2 separate regions of the Homo sapiens genome follow, and region 1 is linked to region 2. The links are contacts of gene promoters, found by promoter capture Hi-C in human tissues and cell types (Jung and others, 2019). All regions are on one chromosome and are shown on one strand. The core of a region is centred on a gene start or on the middle of the fragment in contact, and the rest is flanking DNA. Distances in the headings are between cores, read along the strand shown.

The links. The method cuts DNA at HindIII sites, captures the fragments that hold promoters and counts their contacts. A contact is called where the count stands out against the background at its distance.
Region 1: a contact is called between the fragment with the promoter of SEC14L4 here and the fragment with the promoter of TBC1D10A in region 2, in 1 of the 25 tissues and cell types used here (stomach).

What each region holds. Positions count from the first base shown.
Region 1 is chr22:30,504,180-30,509,841 of GRCh38, forward strand. SEC14L4 (SEC14 like lipid binding 4) reads right to left here and starts at 1,516. Exons shown (of 12, transcript NM_174977.4): 1 at 1,379-1,516. The coding sequence starts at 1,432. RefSeq lists a silencer at 1,283-1,577. The HindIII fragment of the contact is 16,051 bases long and covers 1-5,662 here.
Region 2 is chr22:30,324,352-30,330,028 of GRCh38, forward strand. TBC1D10A (TBC1 domain family member 10A) reads right to left here and starts at 2,590. Exons shown (of 9, transcript NM_031937.3): 1 at 2,322-2,590. The coding sequence starts at 2,530. RefSeq lists an enhancer at 997-1,946 and silencers at 2,163-2,212, 2,513-2,842. The HindIII fragment of the contact is 10,227 bases long and covers 1-4,532 here.

The DNA of each region.
Region 1 (5,662 bases), core at 266-2,765, 180 kb after region 2:
CCCAAGTAGCTGGGACCACAGGCACACAAGATGCCCAGCTAATTTTTGTACTTTTTGTAGAGATGGGATCTTGCTATGTTGCCCAGGCTGGTCTCAAACTCCTTGGCTCAAACAATCCACCCGCCTTAGTATCCCAAAGTGCTGGGATCACAGGCGTGAGCCACCATGCCCGACTGACAGCCTTATTTCTACAAGGATCCCTGGGAGAGTCTGATGCAGGCCAGCTAGGCGGTTTTAGGAATGTTGTCCCTGATACTGCATCTTGAGGGTTTAGATTTAGAGGCAAGTTACCAAACCTCTCTAAGCCTCAGTTTCCTTATCTCTGAAATGGGGATAAAAATAAACTTGTACCAATCAAAGGAGTCTGTGCACGTAAAACACTTAGCAGGCTTGGCTCCGAGCAGGTGTCAGATATATGTGAGCACTCAGCCAGCGTGGACTGCCTGATGCCCCGGACAATGGAGGCTTTGTGGAAAAAAAACAGAGGCAGAGGTCAACAGACAGGGGCTGAAAGAGAAGCCAGGAATGCCTTATCAGGGCATCTGTTGCGTCTGAGAGAGAGGAGATCTCACTTCCCTGGGGACCAACAGAGCTGAAGGCAAAGGCTGGGTTTGAAGGTGAATCTGTGAATCCAAATTTGGGATTAGAAATATGAGGCCGGGCGCAGTGGCTCACACCTGTAATCCCAGCACTTTGGGAGGCCAAGGCGGATGGATCACAAGGTCAGGAGTTCGAGACCAGCCTGTCCAAGAGACCTGCCTGGCCAATATGGTGAAACCCCGTCTCTACTAAAAATACAAAAATTAGTCGGGTGTGGTGGCGGGCACCTGTAGCCCCAGCTACTTGGGAGGCTGAGGCAGGAGAATCGCTTGAACTCAGGAGGTGGAGGTTGCAGTGAACCGAGATTGCGCCATTACACTCCAGCCTGGACGACAGAGCAAGACTCCATCTCAAAAAAAAAAAAAAAAAAGATTACAGAGAAGCTTGGGCCCTAAGAACAAATCACAAAGAGAAGCCAAACAAACAAATGTTGCAACCTGGACATGAAAAGCAGTCTGTCTACCCAAGGCTGCCCCCGCAGCCGGATGGCAGCGCCACTCCCTCCCCCACAACCGGGGAACAAGGACCAGGGCCGGGTGGTGGAGAGCACGCAAGGTCAGAAGACTGGATTCGGCTCCTGGTCACGCAGAGATGGGCCCCTGTCCCGCGTGCTGCACGTAGCCGCCTCAACAACCGCACGCTGGACCAGAGGGCAGAACAGAGGCGCTCTCTCCAGGCTCGGTGTTCCAGTCTGTACCATGGGGGCTCCAGCCGGGTTGGGCAGTGCCAGGCTGCTCAGGGCCCCTCCTCAAGCCTCCCAGCCCGCGATGCTCCTCACCCTGGCCAGCGCTTCCTGCTGCTGGGGGCTCAGGTCCCCGACTCGGCTGCTCATGGTGCCCGCGGGCGCAGAAAGGCTCAGGGCGCAGGTCCGCCCGCCCGCCGCCGCCTGGCCTTGTATCCGCTGCCGCCTGGTTGTGCCTCCTGGGCCAGATGTTGGTCCCGCCCCGACGGGAGAGGCACTGGGCCTGCCCCGCCCCGCCCAGTTCTCTCCTCCTCTCCAGGATTTTTTGCTGCGGTCACCAAGCGCACCCTACTTGGGACAGGGAGGTGACCTGCCGGGAGAGTGGCCTGGGGCAGCTGGAGGCAGCCACCTCCAGGCCTCCTTACTGCGGGGGCTCCCGCCTGTTCGCAGGTGGCAGGAAAGGGAATACACTGAGATCCTCTTTCCAGCAAAATGGAGGAAATTTTTTTTTAAATGTTTTTTTTTTTTTGGGCCAGGCGCGGTGGCTCACGCCTGTAATCCCAGCACTTTGGGAGGCCGAGGCGGGCGGATCACGAGGTCAGGAGGAGATCGAGACCATCCTGGCTAACATGGTGAAAACCCGTCTCTACTGAAAATACAAAAAATTAGCTGGGCGTGGTGGCGGGCGCCTGTAGTCCCAGCTACTCGGGAGGCTGAGGCAGGAGAATGGCGTGAACCCGGGAAGCGGAGCTTGCAGTGAGCCGAGATCGCGCCACTGCACTCCAGCCTGGGTGACAGAGTGAGACTCCGTCTCAAAAAAAAAAAAAATTTTTTTTTTCTTTTTCTTATTTTGAATAAAATAGAGACCGGGTTTTGCTATGCTGACCAGGCTGGTCTGGACCTCCTGGCCTCAAGCAATCCTCCAACCTCCGCCACCCAAAGTGCTGGGATTAGGGATGTGAACCACCATACCTGGCCAACATGGAGGAATTTTTAATAAACCTGGCTCAACCCTCTAGGACCCCCAGGGCTTTTGTCTAATGACCCCCAAGCTCCTTCCCCTGACCTTGAACACAGCCTGGGACCTGTCAGTGCTCACTGACTGATAGGACAGCCTCATGTGCAAAATGGTTCCTGCCCTCAAGATGGTTGGAAGGATAAGAGGACGCACCCTGGGTCAGCAGAATGTCTGGCGTTGCCTGCTCAGTAAGTGCTGGCTGGTAGGAATATATTTCAGAATTGTGTTATTACTGAGGCTGTCACCAGAGCTGGGAGCTGCAGGGGTGGAGATCCTAGGGTGTCCCAAGTGCGGAGCTCCTGGGTGAGAGCCACAGTCTGAAGGTGGAGGCATGCAAGGTGCCAGCCGTGGACCAATGGAAGCCCTGGGCAGAGTGACAGAGTGGGCGGAGAGCCAAAAGGCCACTCTGGCTGACACAAGAGAGCCAGGCGGAGATCACTAGGAAAAGCAAGAAAAAAGTTCAGCCAGGCGCGGTGGCTCATGCTTGCAATCCTGGCACCTGGCACTTTGGGAGGCCAAGGCAGGCGGATCACTTGAGGTCAGGAGTTTGAGACCATCCTGGCCAACATGGTGAAACCCTGTCTCTACTAAAAATACAAAAATTAGCTGGGTGTGGTCGTCCACGCCTGTAGTTCCAGCTACTCAGGAGGCTGAGGCACAAGAATTGCTTGAACCTGGGAGGTTGAGGGTGCAATGAGCCAAGATGGCACCACTGCATTCCAGCCTGGGCGACAGAGCCAGATTCTGTCTCAAAAAAAGAAAACAGAAGTTGGCTGGGTGTGAATTTTCAAGAGAGGAGTAGAGGGGACGTGAAGATGAAGGAGAGAGTAAAACAGGCCACAAGACCCTGTTCCCTCTGTCCTCCCATGGAATCAAACCAAGCTCTAGTCCCGAAAGGACTAACCCAGTGGCCGTGAGCCACAGAGGCTTTTGAGCCCAGACAACGTGGCTTGTCATAACAAGCATAGAGACATGCTGTAATTGTAAAATACAAACCAAGTTTTGATGGCTTAGTACCAGAAAAAGTAAAATGTTTCATTAACTAATTTTATTTATTTATGTACTGAGACAGCATCTCACTCTGTCACCCAGGTTGGAGTGCAGTGGTGCAATCATGGCTCACTGCAGCCTTGACCTCACGGGCTCAAGTGATCCTCCCACCTCAGCCTCCTGAGTAGCTGGGACTACATTCTCACCCCACCACACCCGGCTAATTTATTTTTATTTTTATTTTTATTTTTTTATAGACACAGGGTTTTGCTATGTTAGCCAGGCTGGTCTCAAACTCCTGAGCTCAAGCCATCCATCTGCTTCAGCCTCCCAAATTGCTGGTATTACAAGCGTGTGCCACTGCTCCTAGCCTCATTAATTAATTTTATATAAATGATTATATATTAAGTGATATTTTTGAATATAATAGGACAATAAAATATGTTATTAATATTACTTTCACCTGTTTCTTTTGATGTTTTAATAATTTTGAATTATTTATAATGATAATTTTTTTTCTTTTTTTAAGACAGGGTCTCAATGTGTCACCCAGGCTGGAGTGCAGTGGCAAAATCTCCGCTCACTGCAAGCTCCACCGCCCCCCACCCCTGAAGCTCAAGCAGTGCTCCCACCTCAGCCTCCCCAGTAGCAGGGACTGCAGATGTGCATCTCCACATCCGGCTAATTTTTGTATTTTTTTGAAGAAAAATACAAAACATGGTTTTGCCATGCTGCCTAGGCTGGTCTCAAACTCCCGAGCTCAAGCGATCCTCCCGCCTCAGCCTCCCAAAGTCCTGGGATTATAGGCATGAGCCACAGTGCCCAGCTAAATTGTTATTTTTTAGGACAGTTTTAAGTTCACATCAAAACTGGGCAGAAAGTACAGAGTTCCCACATATCTGCTGTCCCCATACACACACAACCTCTGGTTCCAGAGATATCCATTTGCTGAAATTGATGAGCCTACACTGACACGCTAATATCACCCAAAGTTCCTAGTTTACATTAGGGCTCATTCTTGGTGTTGGATATTCTATGGGTTTTGACAAATGTATAATGACATGTGTCCACCATTGTGGTATCACGCAGAATAGTTTCACTGCCCTAAAAATCCTCTGTGCTCCTACCTATCCTTTTTACTTAAAAAAAAAAAAAATGTAGCCACTGGGGCTGGGCGTGGTGGCTCACGTCTGTAATCCCAGCACTTTGGGAGGCTAAGGCGGGTGGATCACCTGAGGTCAGGAGTTTGAGACCAGCCTGGCCAACACGGCGAAACCCTGTCTCTACTAAAACTACAAAGATTACCTGGGCATGGTGGTGCACGTCTGTAATCCCAGCTACTCGGGAGGCTGAGGTAGGAGAATCACTGAACCCGGGAGGCGGAGGTTCCGGTGATCTGAGATTGCGCCATCACATTCTAGCCTGGGAGACAGAGCAAGACTCCATCTCAAAAAAAAAAAAGTAGCCACTGGAAAGATTTAAAATTACACGTATGGGCTGGGCATGGTGGCTCACACCTGTAATCCCAGCACTTTGAGAGGCTGAGGTGGGCGGATCGCTTGAGCCCAGCAGTTTGAGACCAGCCTGGGTAACATAGTAAAACCCCGTCTCTACTAAAAACACAAAAATTTGCCAGGCATGATGCTGTGCGCATGTAATCCCAGCTACTCAGGAGGCTGAGACAGGAGAATCACTTGAACCCAGGAGGCAGAGACGGGGGTTGCAGTGAGCTGAGATCATGCCACTGCACTCCAGCCTGGGTGACAGAGTGAGATTCGGTCTCAAAAAATAATAATAATAATAAATAAAATAAAATTACATTTATGGATCACATTTATGACTTGCATTATATTTAATTTGAACATTGTTTGCCCTATAGAGATTTAAAATATGTTTTTAGAAAAAGAAAGTAAATCATAAAAAATGCTAAAAGAAAGTAAAAGTGACACCACATCTCTGGAAGGGCATGGTCTGTGTTTAAAAACAATGACAGAATCACAAAGGGAAAATGAATTGATTTGACTACAAAATACAAAAATCTATTAAACAAGAAACAGAATTAAGACATTTATCAGAGTCGGGCGCTGTGGCTCACGCTTGTAATCCCAAACTTTGGGAGACTGAGGCGGGCGGATCAGGAGATCAGGAGTTCAAGACCAGCCTGGCCAACACAGTGAAACCCCGTCTCTACGAAAAATACAAAAATCAGCTGCGCATGGTGGTAGGTGCCTATAATCCCAGCTACTCGGGAGGCTGAGACAGGAGAATCACTTGAACCTGGGAGGCAGAGGTTGCAGTGAGCTGAGATCATGCCACTGCACTCCAGCCTGGACGACAGAGCTAGACTCCATCTCAAAAAAAAAAAAAAAAAG
Region 2 (5,677 bases), core at 1,340-3,839:
GTAGGGAACATCGAAGCTTTCAGATACCAGAGATTTTAGGTTGACTGACAGGCTCCAGAAAGTGAGGGAAGGAGAGAGGACTGGAGCTGGGATCCCACCTCAGCCCCAGCCCTACAGACAGCAGCCATGTAGAGGGTGTCTGCAGAGCCACATCCCGGGTTTGTGGTTGTGGGGTAAGAAAGACAGATGTCTGGCTGCCTGGTTGGGGACTACAGCCAAAGGGAGGTGCTTCCACTGGGGCCTCACTCTGCCCACAAATACCAGAGATATGCCCTCATTTTTCTCTTCATTTCTCAGACCCTTAGAAGGAAAGAAAGAAAACTAACATTTTCTGGGCCGCTACTTGTGACAAGCGCTGTGCCAGGCACCTTCACGTATCATATACTCATTTAACCCCCAGAGTAATGTTGGGAAGTGGGTGTTACTGTCGCCCTTTACAGTGAGTAAACAGGCTCAGAGATTCAGGATCTTGCCCAAGGTCACAAAGCTAGCAAGTGTAATTCCTAAGTTTGGCCTTTTCCTAATATATCACATTGCTCTGCACCCCAAGATCTGGTTGATTGCCTGATAAGCATGTAGTAGGAACTCTCATGCCCTAGCATTCTCCCACAAATCTGAGCTCTTCCTTCCAAGGTCCCATAAATGCAACTGGGAACTCCTTTCCTAGATCTCAAGACCACACACCTCCCTGGGTCCTAATCCCAGGTGACTGCTCCTCAATTCAAAACACTCCAGGTCCCCACTAAGTTCTCACAAGTGAATCCCTGGGGAACTGTGACAAAGCATCAGTCAGGGTGAGGGTTCAGAATGAGGGGTGCTCTCTCTGAGTCCTGGACTAAACCTAGCCTGCTGTGAGCCAGTAGGGAGATACTGGAGGAGACAGATCCAGTGGGTGAGAGGGAACTCCCCTTAGGGGAGGGGCCTGGATTTCTCCAAGGAAGAAGGAGGCCTGGTGAATAAGAGGCTTTAGGGCTGGGGAAAATCCCGGAAGTGACAGGGGTTCTTAGACAGTTAAAGCGCTTCCATAAGTCATGAGAGAGTCTGGGGTGACCTTGGACAATCTCAATTGGTCAGAGAAAGGGAGAAAGGATATTCTCTGGAGTAGGGTCATGGCAGGGCCCCAGGAGCTCCTACTGGTGATTGGGATGGAAAGCACACATCAGGAGGGAGTCTTGTCAGTTCTGTGCACAACACTGGTCTCACGTGACAGGACAGCTGGGATGGGAGTGGGGTATGGAGTCCATCTTTCCTAAGGGGACCGCCAGCCTGTACACATGATCTCTGAGGCCTGGGCTCGGGGGATTCTGTGGGGCAACATGGGGCCCAGCTTGGAGGCAAGGTGCTGTTCCACTGCCCCACATTTCTCTGTCTGCTAGCTGGGTGTCTGGGTGCTCTCGGGATAGGACATCGGGGGGTGCTAATATGAGCAGGGACCCTGCTGTCTCCCTGCCTGCCCCCGTCCCACGCCCAAGATCTGCCCTTGGGAGGAGGCGCATACATACACAGGACATACACAGAGCCCATCTACTGGCTCCTGTGGCTGCTGGAGCTGATGGTCTGTCCTAGTGGTGGGGCTCCCTGTCGCCCTGTACGTGCTGGGAAGGGGGAGTACCTGCCCACCTGTTGCCAGTGCCAGTGGAGGAAGCTGTGTATGAGCGGATAGGGGGCCCTTCTCCGACCCTTCCATGAGGAGAAGGGACTGTCTGTCCCAGGATGGAGCTGAGGGGAGGGAGGTGACCAATGTCTGTCCATCCAGAGGTCTGTATGCCTCGAGGAAAGGGTCAGTCTGTCCTGGGAAGGGGTGGGGGCGGGGCAGTCAGTCCTGAAGTCGGTCTGAGGTCTCCTGGTGTGGGGGCAGTGAGGCGGGGAGACAAGGGCGTCTGTGGGTTTGTGGGAGGGGGAAAGATGGAGAATGAGTGTCTATGGAGGGGGGCGCCAGCCATCTGGGAGCCTGTCGGGGTGGCAGAAACAATCATCCCTAAGGTCTTGGCGGCAGGGGTGGGTTTGGGGCAGTCTGTCATTCTGTTCCACGGCTGGAAGGAGGGCACAGTCGGTCCTTCCTGGGAGCGGGTCAGTCTGTCCGGAGGGTGGAGGTGGCGGGTGGAGGTGTGGGCCCGTCCGCCCCCTGGGTCGGAAGTAGGACTGCGAAGGGGGCGGGTCTAGGAAGGCAGGGGTGGTGGGGGTGGGGCAGGGGAGGGAACGGGGATTAGTGGTCCCTGCCTGGGAGGGGGACGTGTCGGCAAGTCCCGAGGGCGCCTCCGTCCGTGTCGAGGCCCCTCGCGTGGGTGGCGCGCTCAGTCCCGACCCCCGGCGCTACTCACGCGCCCTCGGCGCCCTGCGAGCCCACGATGAAGCCGAACTTGTCGATGCGGCGCTCGGCGAAGCCGTTGGCCTCCGAGTCAGACCCGAGAGAGCTGAGTTCGTCGGTGGTTGCGGCGTCGGGGCCCTGGGCCAGGCTCTCCCGGGTTCCCGACAGGCTTTCCCCGGCCGCGGGCGCGCGCGGCCCATTCTCTCCGTTGCTCTTCGCCATCCCAGCCGCGCCCGCCGCCTGAGCTCCAGCGGCCACCTCAGCCGCCCTGCTGCCGCCGACGCCCCGCCCACGCGCGGCGCCTATTGGCCGCCGCAAGGCCGGGGGGCGGGGCTCCAGGCCCACCCCGGAGCTCTCCCCCCACGCCCAATGGGCGCCGCGGACCCCGGGCCCCGCCCACCCTCCCCCGGCGGGCGCCAACAAGCCCGAAGTGAGGGGGCGGGGCAGCCGTCACCGCAGCCCTCCCCGCCCTCCTCCGGGCTGCCAATCACAAGAACTCACCTGGACGAGCTCGGGCCTTTCCGGGTTGGCTCCAAGCGGGGCCTGTCACCTACTGCAGAGCGCGAGCCGGAGGCCCAGGGCTTCCTCCATGGATTCCTCATCTGCCTCCTGAGCCCCGCTCCCTGCGAGACCCCAAGGACGTGGTAGGGATTGTTTGCCCCATTCATTTATGAGGAACTCTGAGGAGGCCCAAGTGAGTTCAGGGACGCAGAGCGGCTTAAAGGCCCAGCCTGAGCCAGAAGTCTGGCAGTCCCATTGCACTCACTGCTTCTGGGGCTTTAAATTACCTCGTGAGACCTAATTATTAATAATCACCAGCGTTTACTGAGCCACGCACGCCCGAAGCTCTACCTACTTTCTCCTGTAGTCTTTTCCCCAGCAGTTTTATGGAACATAAACATACCATAAATTCACGTTTAAAGTGTACAATGATTTTTAGCATATTTACAGAGTTGTGCAGCCATCACAACATTCTAATTTTAGAACATTTTCATCACCCCAAAAAGAAACTCCTACCAATTAGCAGTCACTCCGCATCCTGGCTCCCCCAGTCCCTGGCAACCACTAATCTGCTTCCTGTTTCTATAGATGTCCCTTTTCTGGATATTTCATATAAATGGAATTATACAATATATGGCCTTTTATGTCTGGATTCTTTCTCTTGAACATTTTCAAGTTTCATCCACATTGTAGCATGTATCAGTGCTTCTGGATTCACATCTGCCCCAGGTATGTCTGACTCCACCCCTCCCTTTCCTGGGATAGGCCCACACCGCCATGAAAGACCTATACTGCCCCTCCTGGGAGCTGGGACTATACCAGATTTTGTTTTTCCATTCATCAGTGATGGTCATTCGCGTGTTTCTAGTTTTTAGCCATTATGAATAATGCTGCTCTGACCATTCAGGTACAAGCTTTTGTGTGGGGGCCTTATGTTTACATTTCTCTTGGATAGATAAGGAAGAGTGGAATTGCTGGGTCATATGGCAACTGTTTAACCTTTCGAGGAACTGGCAAACTGTTTTCCAAATTGGTTGCAACATGTCTTGTAATCTCTTAGCAATGAGGTATACACCATTATTAGTCCCATTTTACAGTTAAGGAGACTGAGGTAAAGTCAGTTGCCTAAGGTCCCAGAATTAGCTGTGAATATAGCCAGGATTCGAACTTAGCTCTTACCAACTGCCTATATTTGGAGGGATGGGCCGATTTTATCTATATGGGCTTAGCCCCAAGCAGCTGATTTCTGACCCTAGAGATTGTCAACTCTTGGATCTATAATATAATGATAGCTCCTCGCTTATGTCTAGTACTTTATGGTTTACAAGTCACAGTATATTGTCATCTGACACTCCCTGCAGACCTGTGGGAGAGACAGGCCTAGAGAGGGGAAGGGACTGGAAGACTCAGACCTGGCTGCAGGGCCTGGGACAGACTATTCAGGGCCCCAAGGCAAGCCCCAAGAGGGGGTCTTGAGCCTTGAGTGATTTCACCTTGATGCCATGTGGCCTGGACATTCTTGATGGCGTCATTGTACAATCCTCACATTCCATGAGCTTCTGGCTTTCCATAAACAAGGCAAGAACAGACATGGGAGTGGGCACAGGCTATTTTGGTCTTAAACCCTCAGTCTAGGAGGATGTTCCTTCTCTTCAGTGACTCCAGACAGTGGTGGGCTCCTGGTCCCAGCTCCCAGGAGGGGCGGTATGGGTCTTTCATGGTGGTATGGGCCTATCCCAGGAAAGGGAGGGGGAGGAGCCAGACATACCTGGGGCAGATGTGAAGCCTCAAGTACAGCAAAGAAAAGTATCCACGACCCTTTGACTTCATGATTCTATCCCTAGGGTTATATCCCAAACATGTTCTTACTCAGCTCTGTGAGGGCACAAATATAGAGACGTTCACCCCAGGGATATTTGGGGAGGGGGTAGATTAGAGACCCTGAGTGTTCATCTTTAGGAGACTGTATAGATGTTACTCCAGTGATGCTTCAGCTTCTAATTTTCTTTAATCAAACCACCAGGATTTGAATTTATGCTCTGTGACCTTGAGCAAATTACTTCTCTCTGAGCCCATTTCCTCATCTATAAATTGGAAATTCTGAAAAAATTCTTCCTTGGAAGAATTGTGCTGAGACTTTAGTGTGACAGTATGCGCTAAACACCTGGCACATGGAGAAGCCCAGTAAATAATGGCCAGGAGCTGGGCGCGGTGGCTCATGCCTGTAATCCCAGCACTTTGAGAGGCTGAGGTGGGTGGATCACTTGAGATCAGGAGTTCGAGACCAGCCTGGCCAACGTGGTGAAACCCCGTCTCTATTAAAAATTCAAAAATTAGCTGGGCGTGGTGGCAGGCGCCTGTAATCACAGCTACTCAGGAGGCTGAGGCAGGAGAATCGCTGGAACCTGGGAGGCAGAGGTTGCAGTGAGCAGAGATCACACCACTCCAGCCTGGGTGACAGACAAGACTCCATCTCAAAATAAATAAATAAATAAATAAATAAATAATGGCCAGGAGTGGTGGCATTTGAAGCTTGCAAAAGGAATTGCAAATTCATTATTGTCTTGAGTGTTCCCCATCACAGCCTGTGGCTGCAGCGGGGGAGTTTGCCCAATTTAACCTATGGCACGTGGCTTGGGAGACTTCACTTCGTGGCTGTGCCCCTCAACAACTGGGTGTCCTTGTGTGAAATTGCTAACTTTTGTATTTTTTTGTAGAGATTAGGTCTTACTATGTGGCCTAGGATGGTCTTGAACTCCTGGGCTCAAGTGATCTTCCCGCCTTGGCCTCCCAAATTGTTGGGATTACAGGCGTGAGCCTCCATGCCTGGCCAAACTCCAGAGTTCTTTATTTAATACACCTATAATG